2 separate regions of the Homo sapiens genome follow, and region 2 is linked to region 1. The links are contacts of gene promoters, found by promoter capture Hi-C in blood cells and fetal thymus (Javierre and others, 2016). All regions are on one chromosome and are shown on one strand. The core of a region is centred on a gene start or on the middle of the fragment in contact, and the rest is flanking DNA. Distances in the headings are between cores, read along the strand shown.

The links. Contacts are between HindIII fragments. The CHiCAGO score rates a contact against its expected background, and 5 or more counts as called.
Region 2: a fragment that was not itself captured here is called in contact with the fragment with the promoter of C7orf25 in region 1 in 2 of 17 cell types (naive CD8 T cells and non-activated CD4 T cells); the score reaches 8.2 in naive CD8 T cells.

What each region holds. Positions count from the first base shown.
Region 1 is chr7:42,910,240-42,913,598 of GRCh38, reverse strand. It overlaps C7orf25 (chromosome 7 open reading frame 25), which reads left to right and starts at 1,529. Exons shown (of 2, transcript NM_001099858.2): 1 at 1,529-1,684; 2 at 2,678-3,359. The coding sequence starts at 2,699. RefSeq lists a silencer at 1,698-1,957 and enhancers at 1,306-2,002, 2,003-2,700. The HindIII fragment of the contact is 2,903 bases long and covers 1,250-3,359 here.
Region 2 is chr7:43,910,875-43,914,619 of GRCh38, reverse strand. It overlaps a transcript of URGCP not described here. Among named protein-coding and RNA genes, the nearest start is that of URGCP-MRPS24, 6.2 kb to the right of the region's middle. The HindIII fragment of the contact is 7,696 bases long and covers 1-3,745 here.

The DNA of each region.
Region 1 (3,359 bases), core at 280-2,779:
TACTGGATCCTTTTGTTTTTGCTCCATTTTTCATCTATTTCTACTTTCTAAATTTTTCCAACTCATTGATGTTTTGAAATTTGGGATATGATTTTTACTACAGAAGAACCATTTCCTGTGCTCTGCTGTCTCCTTAAAAAAAGAAATCCTCTTGTTTCATAGCTGAAATATCTTTTATTTGAAGATGCTAGTTATAGAATACTTTTTGAGACCATTTTGTTCTGTTTTCCATTTCCTTCAAATAACAAAAACGTTGGGAAATGCTGTGTTCGTGAGGCTCACACTAGGGGATGCTGAATGTTGGTATTGCCGAGCCATTTCTCTAGGGTCTTTTGTCTACTCATTTCTTCAGAGAAAAATAGGGTTATGGGGAGATAGTGGTAGGGAGCGGTAGAGGGGTGCCTGCATTATGGGAGGGGCAGAGAAGGGGGCTGCTAGCATTGCACTATTCAGTAGGAAAACATCATGGCACCTCTCATCCTTTGTTAGGCTTTGTGTCTGGAATCCCTCTGATGCCCTGTCTTTAGCATCTTAAACTAGTCTTCTGCCTGAACAATTTACTGCCCTCCCTTCTACCTTCAAGGCACCTGAAGCTTTCTGGGGTTCTGCTTTGTGAATCAGTGGCTAAATATCCCCTTCTACAAGCAGTTTGCTCAGTTCTCCTGACACCATCTGCAAAGAGGGTGCTTGGGTTCAGGTAACCTCCCTATGGCTCACTTATCTGTAAAGCATACTTAATATCTCTACCTTTTAGGTTGTTTAAAGGAGTGAACAATGTGTAAAACACTTAGAACAATGTCTGTCACGCTGTAAGGACTGAATAAGTTATTGCTCTTGTCCTCCAAAAATGTGTTGGTATAACCGGTCTGCAGTCATCTCTTCTCTTGTTCTTTTTGCCTTTGTTTGTTCCCTTTGTCATTGCTTTACTGTTATTTGGAGAAGGAGCATTGCTTTACTGTTAAGTTTGGAGAAGGAGCAGGATACACAGGATTAATTATAACTGGAAGTCCTCTTTAATATTTTAAATTAGCTTTACTTTCTTACAGCCCTAATCTTTCTGGGTGACTCTGGACACTCTACTACAGTAATATGAATATGGCAGCCCCTCGGAAGCCATGCAATCATTTCTTCTCTTCAGAAGGACAGCACACTTTCTTTGGAGGGCCCAGGACAATGCAGTGGAAAGTGCTTTGGCTTGGAGGCAGAAGTCCCAGAGGCAGTACTTCTCAGCTGTCACCTCTGACAAGCTTCTCCAGCGTTTCTTCTGTTAAAATGAGCCCCCAAAATGCCTACGACCCGGTTGCGATCGAGTGGCCGACGCCCCCAGTGGGAGTGAGGCCCAGCACGCGAGCTCGGTCCCTCTTCCTGGAGCCAGGTGGGTGCGCGCCTTCAGGCTCACCCGGCGGCGCAAGCGGGAGAAGCCAGGTGCCCTCAATAAACATGGCCGCCACGCCAGCGTCAACCCGGCTCGGGAGGCCGCGCTGCCGCTTGGGAATCGCAGGTTTGGCGTCACCCGGCCCGGAACCACGTGATGCAGGAGGTGCCCGAGGCGGCGGGGCTCGCGCGGGTGGAGCCGCCTCGGCGTTCGAGCGGGGTGGGGGCTGCCCGGTTGAGATTTCCCGGCGGGTCCCGGCCTCTGCGTGCACGCGCCTGCGTGCTCGCGCTCGCGGTTCTGGCGCTGCCGGTGAGGAGCCGGGGAGCGAGGCGGGGAGGCTGGGAGCGGGGCGCCTCTTCTGAGGCCAGAGGGGGCTGGGCAGGGCCGGCCCGGCGGGAAGGGGGTCGGCCGCGCGCTATCAGCGCCTGGTCCCTGAGCCGCGGCGCTGGCGGTGGGGGCTTTTCGGCCCCGGCCCCTCCTGGCAGGGCCCGGCTGTGCAGGTGGCCGGGCAGGGCCGAGGGCCCCGCAGCCCACCGAGAAGGCCCCGCCGGCCTCTGGCCCGCCCACCCGGCGACCTGCGCTGGGGCCGCTTGCACGGCCGCCGCGGGTTGCAGCCTTGGAGTTTAGTTTCATCTTCGGATTTTCCTTCAGAGTCGGAGTGGGAGTGGGACGCAAGTTGGTGGTCTTCTTCGGTCTTTTAAAATAGTCTGGGTTGACGTCAAATGCAGAAATGAGGCAGTGTTGATTTTTTTTGGCGTAAGTACCCCAAGCCTCGGGGGAAATCATGAGGCAGCCGGTTGAAGGAGACCAACTCGGGAAGGAGGAAAAGGTTAGGGAGGCTGAAGTGCTCAGTTTAGGACAGACACTTGCTTTGGACAGTTTGCTAACTAGCCAGTCTGTGTGTATTTTTGTTTTCGGCATTTTTGTCGCCTTTATTAAAATTTCTCAGCAGTTAAACAGGCCGCTGATAGACATAAGGGAATTATTTATATAGCAGATTGCCCAACTCTTGCATTGTATCCTAACCTAGGACCATGCTGTGTCCCCATGGCTTTCAAGCTGAAGAAATGAAGGTCTAAAGTGTGTCAGACGTACCTAAAGAAGAGTTCAAAAGTGTAGCTGCCATCCTTTCCTTAGCTATCAGAGGAAGCAGTCACTCCAGAATGAGACATACACAAGCCCGGGTTCATAGACTCACCCTCCATAAGCTGTGTTGCTAGATTGAAGTTTTTAATCACCAGTGAAGAATTGATTGTCATAATTTTAGGAGACTACTGAAGTTTGCCTTGTTTCTTTCCCTAGGAAAGGAATAATGCTGACAGCATGTCTGCACATTCCATGCTCTGTGAACGAATCGCCATAGCCAAGGAACTGATCAAGAGAGCAGAATCACTTTCTAGATCAAGAAAAGGTGGCATAGAAGGTGGTGCAAAGCTGTGCAGCAAATTGAAGGCAGAATTAAAATTCTTGCAGAAAGTAGAAGCTGGGAAAGTAGCTATTAAAGAGTCTCATTTACAGAGCACTAACCTAACACACCTGAGAGCCATTGTGGAATCAGCAGAAAACCTGGAAGAAGTTGTTAGTGTTCTTCATGTCTTTGGTTATACAGATACCTTAGGAGAAAAGCAAACCCTTGTGGTAGATGTAGTTGCAAATGGTGGTCATACTTGGGTGAAAGCCATTGGCCGGAAGGCTGAAGCTCTTCATAACATCTGGCTGGGCAGGGGCCAATATGGTGACAAAAGCATCATTGAGCAGGCTGAAGACTTCCTCCAGGCCAGTCACCAGCAGCCAGTGCAGTATAGCAACCCTCACATCATCTTTGCATTTTACAACAGTGTCTCCAGCCCCATGGCAGAGAAGCTGAAAGAAATGGGCATATCTGTGAGAGGAGACATAGTAGCAGTCAACGCTCTGTTAGATCACCCTGAAGAGCTTCAACCAAGTGAGAGTGAATCAGATGATGAGGGCCCTGAACTTTTGC
Region 2 (3,745 bases), core at 756-3,255, 1.0 Mb before region 1:
CTCAGCCTCTATTCAAGATGGAGTTGCTGTGATTCAAATGCCTCTAACACAAGTGAGATGAACTCAGAGAGGAGATCCACACTGACACATAATTAAACTCTTATTTTTTATTTTTTTGAGACACTCTCATCCTGCCACCCAGGCTGGAGTACAGTGGTATGATCTTGGCTCACTGCAACCTCCATCTCCCAGGCTCAAGAGATGCTCTCACCTCAGGCACCCAAGTAGTTAGGACTACAGACATGCATTAGCATACCCGGCTAAATTTTTTTTGAGGGTGGTTAGAGATGCGGTTTTACCATGTTTCCCAGGCTGATCTCAAGCTCCTGGGCTCAAGCAATCCACCCCACCTCAGCCTCCCAAAGTGCTGGGATTACAGGTGTGAGCCACCACACCCAGCCATAATTAAACTTTCAAAAGCCACCCTGGCAAAACCCGTCTCTACAAAACATACAAAAATTAGCCAGGTGTGGTGGCAAGCACCTGTAGTACCAGCTACTTAGGGAGCTGAGGCCAAAGGATTGCTTGAGCCCAAGAAATCAGCTTGAGCTAATATCACGCCACTGCACTCCAGCCTGAGTGACAGAGCAAGATAGTCTCTATAAAAAAACAAATAAAATAGGCCAGGTGCAGTGGCTCACACCTATAATACCAGGACTTTGGTAGGCCAAGGCAGGTGGATCACTTGAGGGTAGGAGTTCAAGACCAGCCTGGCCAACATGGTAAAAACCTGTTTCTACTAAAAATACAAAAATTAGCTGGGCGTGGTGATGTGCACCTGTAGTCCCAGCTACTTGGAAGGCTGAGGCAGGAGAATCACTTGAACTAGGGAGGCGGAGGTTGCAGTGAGCCAAGATCATGCCACTGCACTCCAGCCTGGGCAACAGAGCGAGATTCCATCTCAAAAATAAATAAATAAATGAAATAAAATAAAACTTTCGAAAGCCAAAAACAGAGAATCTTGAAAGTGTGAAGAGAGAAGTGATTCATCATATTTAAGGGCTCTTTAATAAGATTATCAGCAGATTTCTCATGAGAAACTTTTAAGGCTAGCAGGCAGTGGGGTGATATATTTAAAGTGCTTAAAGAAAATAACTGTCAGGGCCAGGTGCGGTGGTTCACGCCTATAATCCCAGCACTTTGGGAGGCCGAGGCAGGCAGATCACAAGGTCAGGAGATGAAGACCATCCTGGCTAACACGGTGAAACCCCGTCTCTACTAAAAATAAAAAATAAAAAAAAAAAATAGCCGGGAGTGGTGGCAGGCGCCTGTAGTCCCAGCTACTCAGGAGGCTGAGGCAGGAGAATGGTGTGAACCCAGGAGGCGGAGCTTGCAGTGAGCCGAGTTCGCGCCACTGCACTCCAGCCTGGACCACAGAGCGAGACTCCGTCTCAAAAAACAAACAAACAAAAAAAACTGTCAACCAAGAATCTTATATCTGGCAAATTGTCCTTCAAAAGTATGGGAGAGGCTGGGCGGGATGGCTCATACCTGTAATCCCAGCACTTAGGGAGGCCAAGGTGGGTGGATCACTTGAGGTCAGGAGTTGGAGACCAGTCTGGCCAACATGGTGAAACCCTGTCTCTACTAAAAATATAAAAATTAGCTGGGCATGGTGGCGCATGGCTGTAATCCCAGCTACATGGGAGGCTGAGGCAGGAGAATCTCTTGAACCCGGGAGGTGGAGGTTGCAGTGAGCTGAGATCATGCCACTACATTCCAGCCTGGGCAACAGAGTGAGACTCTGTCTCAAAAAGAAAAAAAAAAATTGAAGGAGAAATTAAGACATTCACAGAAAAACAAAAGCTGAGGGAATTCATTACCAATAGACTGGTCCTGCAAGAAATGCTGAAGGGAGTCATACAAATTGCTACAAAATATTAAAGAATAAATACATAAAAGGAAAGACATCCTATGTTGATGGGTTGAATTGGAAGACAATATTGTTAAGATGTCACTATTACCCCAAGTGATCTGCAGATACAATGTAATCCCTATCAAAATCTCGATGGTTTTGCAGAAATAGAAAAACCCATCCTAAAGTTCATATGGAATCTGAAGGGATCCTGAACAGCCAAAACAGTTTTAAAAAGAACAAAGCTGGAGGACTTACACTTCCTGATTTTGGAGTCTTGCTCTGTTGCCTAGGCTGGAATGCAGTGGTGCAATCTCAGCTCACTGCAACCTCCATCTCCTGGGTTCAAGCGATTCTCCTGCCTTAGCCTCCCGAGTAGCTGGGACTACAGGCGTGCGCCACCACGCCTGGCTAATTTTTTGTATTTTTAGTAGAGACAGGGTTTCACCATGTTGGCCAGGCTGGTCTGGAACTCTTGACCTCAGGTAATCCAACAGCCTCAGCCTCCCAAAGTGCTGGGATTACAGGCATGAGCAACCACGCCCGGCCCATATTACTTTAATTTTTATTATTTCCCTCCTTTTGCTAGCTTTGGATATAGTTTGCTCTTCATTTTCTTTTTCTTTAAGGTATAGAGCTAAGTTATTGAGTTGAGATCTTTCTTTGTTTTAAATATAGGCATTAAAGTATAAATTGCCCTCTTAGAACTGACTGCACTGCATCCCATAAGTTTTGGTATATTTTATTTTTTTTCAAGGTATTTTCTAATTTCCTGTGTTTTTTTTCTTTTGGTCCATTGGTTGCTTAAGGGTGTTCTTTAATTTCCACACATTTGTCAATTTTCTAGTTTTCTTCCTGTTGTGAGGTCTAGTTTCTAGTTTCATTCCATTATGATCAAAAAAGATACTTTATATGATTTTATTATTTTATGATGTATTAAGGCTTGTTTTGTGACCTAACATATGGTCTATCTTGGAGAGTGTTCCATGTGCATTTGAGAAGAACATGTATTTTGCTGTTGTTCAGTAGTGCTGTGCATATGTCTGTTAGGTCCTATTTATTTATTTGAGACAGAGTTTCACTCTTGTTGCCCAGGATGGAGTGCAATGATGAGATCTTGGCTAACTACAACCTCCACCTCCCAGGTTCAAGCAATTTTCCTGCCTCAGCCTCCTAAGTAGCTGGGATTACAGACATCCACCGCCACGCCTGGCTAATTTTTTGTATTTTTAGTAGAGACGGGGTTTCACCATGTTGGCCAGGCTGGTCTTGAACTCCTGACCTCAGGTGATCCACCCTCCTCAGCCTCCCAAAGTGCTGGGATTACAGGCGTGAGCCACCGCGCCTGGCCCTATTTATTTATTTGAGATGGAGTCTCGCTCTGTCACCCAGGCTGGAATCGGTGGCATGATCTCAGCTCTCTGCAACCTCCACCTCCTGGGTTCACACAATACTCCTGCCTCAGCTTCCCGAGTAGCTGGGATTATAGGTGTGCGCCACCACACCCAGCTAATTTTTGTATTTTTAGTAGAGAGGAGGTTTCACCATGTTGGCCCTACTGGTCTCGAACTCCTGACCTCAAGTGATCCACCTGCCTTGGCTTCACAAAGTGCTGGGATTACAGGTGTGAGCTACCGTGACTGGCTGGTCCAGTTTATTTATAGTGCTGTTCAGGCTGTCTATTTTCTTATGGTTCTCCTGTCTGATTGTACTATTATTGAAAGTGGGGTATTGAAGTTTCCAACTTTTATTGTAGAAGTCTGTATTTTTTCTCTTTAATTCTGTCAATGTTAGCTTCATATTTTTTGGGGATCTTTTGTTTGGTGCATACATGTTTATCATTGTTATGTCTTCTTAGTGAATTGACTCTTATCAATATGTAATGTTCTT